Linked DNA regions of Homo sapiens: all the other regions are linked to region 1. The links are contacts of gene promoters, found by promoter capture Hi-C in human tissues and cell types (Jung and others, 2019). All regions are on one chromosome and are shown on one strand. Each heading gives the region's core, a stretch centred on a gene start or on the middle of the fragment in contact. The rest is flanking DNA. Distances are from core to core; before and after follow the strand shown. Region 1 holds the start of PRKCQ (protein kinase C theta). Region 2 overlaps LINC02642 (long intergenic non-protein coding RNA 2642). Region 3 overlaps SFMBT2 (Scm like with four mbt domains 2).

The links. The method cuts DNA at HindIII sites, captures the fragments that hold promoters and counts their contacts. A contact is called where the count stands out against the background at its distance.
Region 2: a fragment that was not itself captured here is called in contact with the fragment with the promoter of PRKCQ in region 1 in 1 of the 25 tissues and cell types used here (hippocampus).
Region 3: a contact is called between a fragment that was not itself captured here and the fragment with the promoter of PRKCQ in region 1, in 1 of the 25 tissues and cell types used here (H1 embryonic stem cells).

Annotation. Positions count from the first base shown.
Region 1 is chr10:6,578,943-6,581,616 of GRCh38, reverse strand. It overlaps PRKCQ (protein kinase C theta), which reads left to right and starts at 1,341. Exons shown (of 18, transcript NM_006257.5): 1 at 1,341-1,406. PRKCQ-AS1 (PRKCQ antisense RNA 1) reads right to left here and starts at 1,192. Exons shown (of 2, transcript NR_036503.1): 1 at 690-1,192. RefSeq lists silencers at 930-1,079, 1,090-1,339. The HindIII fragment of the contact is 11,498 bases long and covers 1-2,674 here.
Region 2 is chr10:7,444,727-7,447,400 of GRCh38, reverse strand. LINC02642 (long intergenic non-protein coding RNA 2642) reads left to right here. Exons shown (of 4, transcript NR_184109.1): 4 at 1,609-2,674. Among named protein-coding and RNA genes, the nearest start is that of LINC02642, 27 kb to the left of the region's middle. RefSeq lists enhancers at 37-536, 1,621-1,720 and a silencer at 1,593-1,799. The HindIII fragment of the contact is 5,048 bases long and covers 1-2,674 here.
Region 3 is chr10:7,389,608-7,392,281 of GRCh38, reverse strand. All of the region lies in intron 1 of SFMBT2 (Scm like with four mbt domains 2), which reads left to right. Among named protein-coding and RNA genes, the nearest start is that of SFMBT2, 20 kb to the left of the region's middle. The HindIII fragment of the contact is 5,344 bases long and covers 1-2,674 here.

The sequences.
Region 1 (2,674 bases), core at 92-2,591:
CCTACATTCCCATGATCAGAAGGCTGCTAATTCAACTTTTGGCTTTTGTTAAACCTTTTTTTTTTTTGAGGCAGAGTTTTGCTGTCACCCAGACTGCAGTGCAGTGGTGAGATCTCAGCTCACTGCAACCTCCTCCTCCCAGGTTCAAACGATTCTCCTGCCTCAGCCTTCTGAGTAGCTGGGATTACTGGCACGTGCCACAACACCCAGCTAATTTTTGTATTTTTAGGAGAGACACGATTTTGCCATGTTGGCCAGGCTGGTCTCAAACTCCCAGCCTCAAGCGATCCACCCGCCTCAGCCTCCCAAAGTGCTGGCATTACAGGCATGAGCCACCGCACCTGGCCTGTTTTGTTTTGTTTTAATCGTTTTTAATGTCTCTCTCAAAACAAGAAAAGAAAAAAGGACAAAAAATTACTATTTTACTTCTCAGATTAATCTGATCTTAGTACACTACAGCAACAAAAGTCTTAATCAAGTACGTTTTAATTATTTGGTGTCATCATTGCAAGGAAACCATTCAGTAAGAATATTAGTAACCAGACATATAATTTTCTAACCTGAATGAGAAATTAGTTACATGGAGTATAGAAAAAGAAACCACCCCGTTTATCCTCCCTGTGACCATCATTAGTATTACCCGCAAGGCATAAAAAGTCCTAAAATGACACGCACGGCGGCAACATTACCTTTGCAGCTTCAAGCACAGTAAAGTTGAAAGCAGTCCCACCTTGGCAATTGTGTATAAAACGACAATGTGCAGATACAGGAAAAGTCCCAGGTCCGAAGCCACCTAGGAACGATGACCCCAGGACAGAAGTGTGCCCAAACAAATGCCTGGGGTAGGTCATTTTAAAAGGAACAATGTTTACAAGCCCTTTCTAGCGTGAAAAACAGAGAAAAGAGACCCAGCTCTTTCCACCCAATCTGCTGGAGCGCCGTTTCGTTTTCAGTTGGGCGAGAGGGAGACATGTGGCCTCTCGCCCCTTTTCCTGACTCTGAGAATGTGGCCGGAGCCGGGGCGCTCCTGCTCCGCCTCGCCGCCCTCCCGGGGCTGTCCTGGGCCCTCCGGCCGCCGCCTCCCGCTCCAGTTCGCAGCTGGGCGACAAGTGGCTGGTAAGGAGGCCAGGGGCGGGAGCCTGGGCGCGGGACCGGGGGCGCACGGCGGGGGACCGAGCGCGCGTCCCTGGCTAGAGGTGCCGGGTCCCGGGAGGCCGGGCTGGCGGGGAGGCTGGCGAGCGCCCCCTGGCGGGCACCGCCTTCTAGGCGCACCCGCAGTGCGCCGGGCCCGCCAGCCCCGCCAGCCCCGCCAGCCCCGCCAGCCCCGCCAGTCCCCGCGCAGTCCCCGCGCAGTCCCCGCGCAGTCCCAGCGCCACCGGGCAGCAGCGGCGCCGTGCTCGCTCCAGGTAGGGCCCCGCGCCCCGCGCCGCCGCCGGGAGGGAGCGGGCTGGAGGGGCCGAGACCCGTGGCGAGAAGGGCTACCCGGGCCCCTCGGAGAGCCTCCGGGAAGGGGTGAGGGCTGCCGGGTGAGCAGGCGGAGTAGGAAATGGAACCAAGCGGGCGCAAGAGCGCACCGGGAAGAATTTCCCCGCTGGGTTTCTGGGACGCAGGTCGCACGGGATGCGGGATGCTGGCGACCTTAGCCGGGTGGGGGCCGCCGGCCTGGGGGCGCTTCCTCCTTTCTTCTCCCTTTTCCTTCTCACCTGAACGAAAGGGGGCCTGCGGGGAGGGAAGAAGGTGGAAAGTTTTTGTATTCTTGGTAAAAAAAAAAAAAAAAAATGCGTGAGGAAACATGTTTTCTGGAGATGGTATCCTGTCCACAGGGGAGCATAACCCCTTTTCTGGGAATGTATTGGAGCACGGACGGGGGTGCCATTGCTCAGGCTTCTAAACAAGCCAAGTTTCTGGTCAAGGGCCTGGGGGAGGGGGAGGCAGGTCTTTGAAAGATACCAAAAAAAAAAAAAAAAGAAAAATCTGCGTGCTCATTCCTGTAGCCTCAAGTGAGGTTATTCCCCAGCTTTGAGGGCCAGGTTAACCAAGCAAAGTTTGTGCAATAAAGTATCTTTGTGGTATTGGATTTTCGAGAGCCACCGTTATCAATGGGAGAGTGACTGTTGAATGCTACAGGCGTGTGCACTCCCCCGTGGGCATGAAGAGAGGTCCACGGGCTGGCTGGATTGGGAGACTCCGGTCATTTCTGCAAGGAGAGCGCCACAGGACTGCCTTGTTCCCTGGGCTGTCCTGCCCCTGTGCGGGCTGGACGTGGTGCTATAAAAGATGATTCAGGAGTGGCACAGGCTGAGGGGGACTAGGCTGGAGAAGGTGGAGGGAAGAGGGAGCACTCCGTGCCCTCTTCCTGTCCATGGGAAATGAACCATCTGTGCCTGGTGTCCAAGTCCTTGACGTTCCAGTTGCCCTTTGAGAGCACACCTCAAGCCTGCTGAATTCTTTTAAGAACCACCTACAAGATCTGAGAAGTCCGCCCATGCTTTCTGTCAACTCCGGCCTCTTTGACCTTTTCTTTTGCCAAAGAAAATTCTAAACCACTGGGATTCGTGAGGCTCCGTGAGAGAGGCAAGAAGCCTGGAGGGTCCACTCCGTTGCTCTTTTCCCTTGGTTTGCTCCCTAGAAGCCATGGTCCCCACTGGGCCCTTCTTGCCCGAGGCTGTGTGAT
Region 2 (2,674 bases), core at 100-2,599, 870 kb before region 1:
TAGCCTCGGCAACACAGTGAGACCCCATTTCAAAAATAAATAAATAAATAAATGAATAAAATATATATATATTAAACTTGAATATGGTAAAACATAATAAAGCCATATGACAAACTGAGAAAAAAATTTGCAATGCAAAAGATAAAGATTATCTTATAAAACCTATTAAGAGATTTTTATAAATAATAAAAAACAAATGGACAAAGGCAGGTAGGTAACATAAAAATCATTATATACAGAGTTCCAAGATGAAAAGATGCTCTAACATGCTGACAATTAAGAACTACAAATGGAACTGAGACACGGTTTTTTTACCAATCACCTTGACAAAGTTAGGTGCTAGCAAGGGCATGAGAAACCAACACTCAAGTGCACGGTAGATGAGAGTGTAAATTAGCACAGCATCCTTGCAAGTGTTTGTTTCGTGTTAAGATAGAGTGTTATTTGGTGATATCTAACGAAATTAGAAAATGAATACGCCCTTTGATCCAGCAATTTCAGTTTTAGGAATTTATTCTGCAGATATGCTGAAAATGCGCATAAAGACGTATGTAAAAGCAAAGCCATTGCTGCATTGTTTGCCACAGCAAGAACAGTAACTGAAAATAACTCGAATATCCATAATCGAGGCTGGTTCAAAATGTATAGCACGTCATTCCAGTGGAGTGCTCCAGAACTGGAAGGAAACGAATAGAGCTGTGTGTGCTGATACAGAGAGATTGTCGAGGTGTATCACCAGGCATACAAATCAAGACATAGAATAATGTGATTTCTGTGTCCCCATTTGTATTGTGTGTCCGCAGGGACAGTATCTGGAAGGTACACCAGGAACTGCTGAGGAGTGGAACTAGGACTCTGAGACAAAAGGGGTTTGCTTTTCATTTTAAACTGTATTATTATTTGAATTTTTTAAAAATCAAGGACTGTTCAGGTGCAATGGCTCATGCCTGTAATCTTAGCACTTTGGGAGGCTGAGGTGGGTGGATCACTTGAGCCCAGGAGTTTGAGACCAGCCTGGACAACATGGTAAGACCCTGTCTCTACAAGACAAAAAAAAAAAAAAATGCCGAGCGTGATGGTGTGTACGTGTGGTCACATTTACTCAAGAGGCTGAGATGGGAGGATCACTTGAGCCCAGGAGGTTGAGGCTACAGTGAACTGGGATTGTGCCACTGCACTCCAGCCTGGATGAGAGAGTGAGACTCTGTCCTCCAAAAAGAAGTCAAGGACCATGTGATTTTCCTAAATAGAGGGAGTAGGTTATCACTACGTTACGGAATAGGACATTTAGCAATGTTTATTACTTACTGACTTATATTCATGGCAGACCACATCACATTCTTTTTGAATATTCATATTGAGCCTGTTATGAAGCATTTCACATAGGAAAAGCAATGTGTGAATCAATGAGGAAATGAAACTATGTATTTATTGACGGTATTTGTGAGATATGCAAGTGTGCAGAGTCTTCTGATAACCTCAGAATGCTGATACATTTAGCAAACCTCATTCTTAAAGTTGGCCAGATAATGACTTATTTTGCTGAAGTCTCCAAAAAAGCTGAGTTGTGAAGCCTTTGAAAAAGTATCAATGAACTTTTTCTTTCAGGTGGGGCTGAGCTGTTGTTCTAGAAGAAAAAAGGATGTCTTGTCCTGTGTGAACTGGAACAGCGCTTAGAAATCGAGGAGCGTGGCCCTGGGAACAGAGGCTGTGTGCTGTTGTTTTTGCTTCCTCATTAATGAGCATGGGCCTTCAGTGAGCTCCTTTCCCTTGCTGGCCTTCATTTGTAAAATGTTGGCTGACGGCTAAGGGTGTTTATTCCTCTAAAATCACCTAATTAGAAGAGAAGAAAGGAAAATACAAAACAAAATTAAATATAAGCAGCATGTTCCACATTTTAGACTTACTTAGATTCTTATCTCTCTGCAATAATCCTAATGCTAATTCACTTTCTCAGAGGTGTCCAGCGCAGGATGGGCTTAGATCATCCGTGGAATTGCTTGTTCTATAAGCTTTAGTTACTTTGATGACTGGAAGTATGTAAGTTCAGAGACATGCATTAAATACATGTTTCTGGTTTTCCCCAAATGACCCATGGACAGATAGGTGCCTGTATTTATTTTGTGTCAAATTTCATCTTATTCATTTAGTTGGAGACATAGTTATCTGATGGGTTCTCTGGGGTAATCATTTAGAACTCCTGAACTTTAGCAAGAAGCTGTAAGAAAGTCCAAGTTCTTTTTCTTAAAACTTCAAATAAGGTTCCCCAGTGAGTCTGGGGAAGGCCATGACATTGTCAGAAAAGCTGTTCCGTATCTGTGCCTCCGAGGTTCCTGCACGGCACTGCTGAATGGCCAATTTGCTGCGAATACGCATCGATCGTCTGATGCACGGCGCTCTGCACTGAGGACACCGTGAAGATGAACCGTGGTTCATTCCAGGGGTTAGCTGAGTTCTGAAACTGGAAAGTGAACGACCATTTATCAGTAGGTGAAACAGAACTGTGCTGGAACACAGCCAGCGGGAGTTCAATTAGGCAGAAACAAATCGGGGGGAAAGGAAGGGATGGCGTTCTGCATGGGGCTCAGGCACCATCTCCTTAGAAACGGCTGCTGCAAAGCCGCCGCAATAAATGCTCTGCTGAGTCTGTCCACAGCCCCACCCGGTAGAGAGG
Region 3 (2,674 bases), core at 105-2,604, 810 kb before region 1:
CGGCCTCCCAAAGTGTTGGGATTACAGGCGTGAGCCACCGCACCCAGGCAGGATACTATTTTTTGAATGTCAAATAAAGAAAAGGTATAAAGGGTTTAGATGTTTTCTCCTGCCCTGCTAGTAAACCAGCTTAGCGGACTTGAGAGCATGTTTTCAGGGGGGTCATGAGCCTCAACTGTGTCCCCATATTTTTGACCCTATAATTTAACTTCTGGGATTCTACATTAAGGAGACATCAGAGATGTAGGATTTCTGACTGAGAGTCGTGACTAGAGTGCTACTTACCATGGTGAAAAAATAATATAAACAGCTTTAATGGGCGGCAGCAGAGGCATGGTAAATACATGACCTTATTCATTTTATAATAAAAATTATCCAACCATTTCAAGTCATGTTTTCAGAGAATCTTAATGACGCGAGAAATTCCTTCTGTGTAATGCAAAATGAAAAAATGGATTGGAATTCCGAATTCTCTGTGAACTAAACAACAACAACAAAATCCACAGAGAAACTATCAGGAGGAGATACTATAGAAACATAAAATTGATTATCACTGAGTATTAGAATTACAAGTGATTTTAATTTCTTTCTTTATAATTTTACTTTTCAAGATTTCTACCAAGAGCATGTCTATCTCTTATAGGAAGGAAAAAACTAAATGTTGTTGAAAAAGTCAAAGTGGGACACATCGTTTGCAAAGTGAATCAATTTTGCAGTCACCTGGGTGGACGTAGGGGGAAGTCTTCCAGTGGCACGGCCATTGCCCTCCAGAGTCATGTGAGCTTTCACTCTGCTACTGTTTTTTTTTTTTTTTTTGAGACAGAGTCTCGCTCTGTTGCCCAGGCTGGAGTGCAGTAGCGCTATCTTGGCTCACCACAACCTCCACCTCCTGGGTTCAAGCGATTCTCCTGCCTCAGCCTCCCGAGTAGCTGGGATTATACGCACGTGCCACCATGCCCGGCTAATTTTTCTATTCTTAATAGAGACAGGGTTTCACCATGTTGGTCAGGCTGGTCTCAAACTCCTGACCTCGTGATCCACCCGCCTTGGGCTTCCAAAGTGCTGGGATTACAGGCGTGAGCCACCACGCCCAGCCACTGTGCTACTCTTTCAGTGGCTTTCTTGTTGGTCTTTGTATTATTACTCTTCAGTTTTATTGATTGATTGATTGATTGACTGAGTGAGTCGGAGTCTCACTCTGTTGCCCAGGCTGGAGTGCAATGGTGCGATCTCAGCTCACTGCAACCTTAGCCTCTCAGGTTCAAGTGATTCTCCTGCCTCAGCCTCTCAAGTAGCTGGGATGACAGACACGTGCCACCAAGCCCTGCTAATTTTTGTATTTTTAGTGGAGATGGGGTTTCACCATGTTGGTCAGGCTAGTCTCGAACTCCTGACCTCAGGTGATCCTTCTGCTTCAGCTTCCCAAAGTGCTGGGATTACCGGCATGAGCCAACGCACCAGGCCTTGAGTTCTATTTAAAATGATTGATTTGATGCATTTAAATTTTACAGTCTCAGATTACTGTTCTGTAGTGTCTAGTTAGAGGCAAATGGGTAATGAGGAGTCATAAGACTTGAGCAAACTTTTCCCCTTTTAATAAGTGTCTATAAGCCACTGACATTTAACTGATTTATTAATAGCCATATTCATGGACTTTTTTTTCTTTATAGAAAAACTTGGTACATGACTACATTTTTGAGGCGGAATGATTTTCCTGAATTTATAAATGAATGAAAAAAAGCAAATAGTCTTTGTATGACACACGTAATAGTTTCTAAGATGTTTCTCCTTTGACATTTTCCATTGATATAAAAATGCAGCTGATTTAATAAAAACCTATGCTGTGTTAGGAAGTTTGCCGTGAATCATTTGTGGAATATTAGGGGGAAACTGTTAAGTCTCCTTTTGAAGTTTCTTAGATTTAAAAATTCATGAGTTTTAACTAGCTTGACATTATTACATTAAAACTTTTAAGACAGCCAAGAATTGATGGTTGTTTAGGACATGTTCCAAGCCCTCAAATACGGCTCTCCAGTGCAGTGGCTTGCTGGGCTGCCCACCTTCTACCCACATGTGCCTAGTTCAATTCAAGGTCATTAAAATTAAAATTCAGGTCCTCAACAGTACTAGATACGCTTCCAGTGCACTGTAGCCAACGTGTGGCTAGTGGTTACTGTACTGGACCAAGCAGATATAGATCAGGCAGTGCTGGTCTAGATGCATTCAACATAGATAATGAGCCCCCAGTTATGTTTGGCTAGTTGAAGAGTAATATCTAATGCATGTTCTTTCTCACTCGTGTTCTTCCTAACAAGGCTTTGCTTAGCCTGTGCTAGCATTACTCTATTCTTTGACTATACCTCAAGTGAAAGGAGAAGGAAAGATAGGGTTGAGAGGGGAGGATGCTTATTGTATTAAATTTGCTTCAAACATAAAGGGATAATCTGAATGCAGAAAATGTACAATGAATCATAATAACACCTGGATTGATAAAATTTTAGATTTGAAAGGGGTGATTGCATCTCATCAAGCTTTCTGATTGAACTGATGAGAAATTCAAGGAGTAGAGAGGTTAAGTAATTTGTTTATGTCACACAGCCACATAGCTTGTTATTCCCTTATTCTGCAAGCTCTCTGTTCTTTTCACTGGTCCAAGACAACTCTTGTAAGAAGT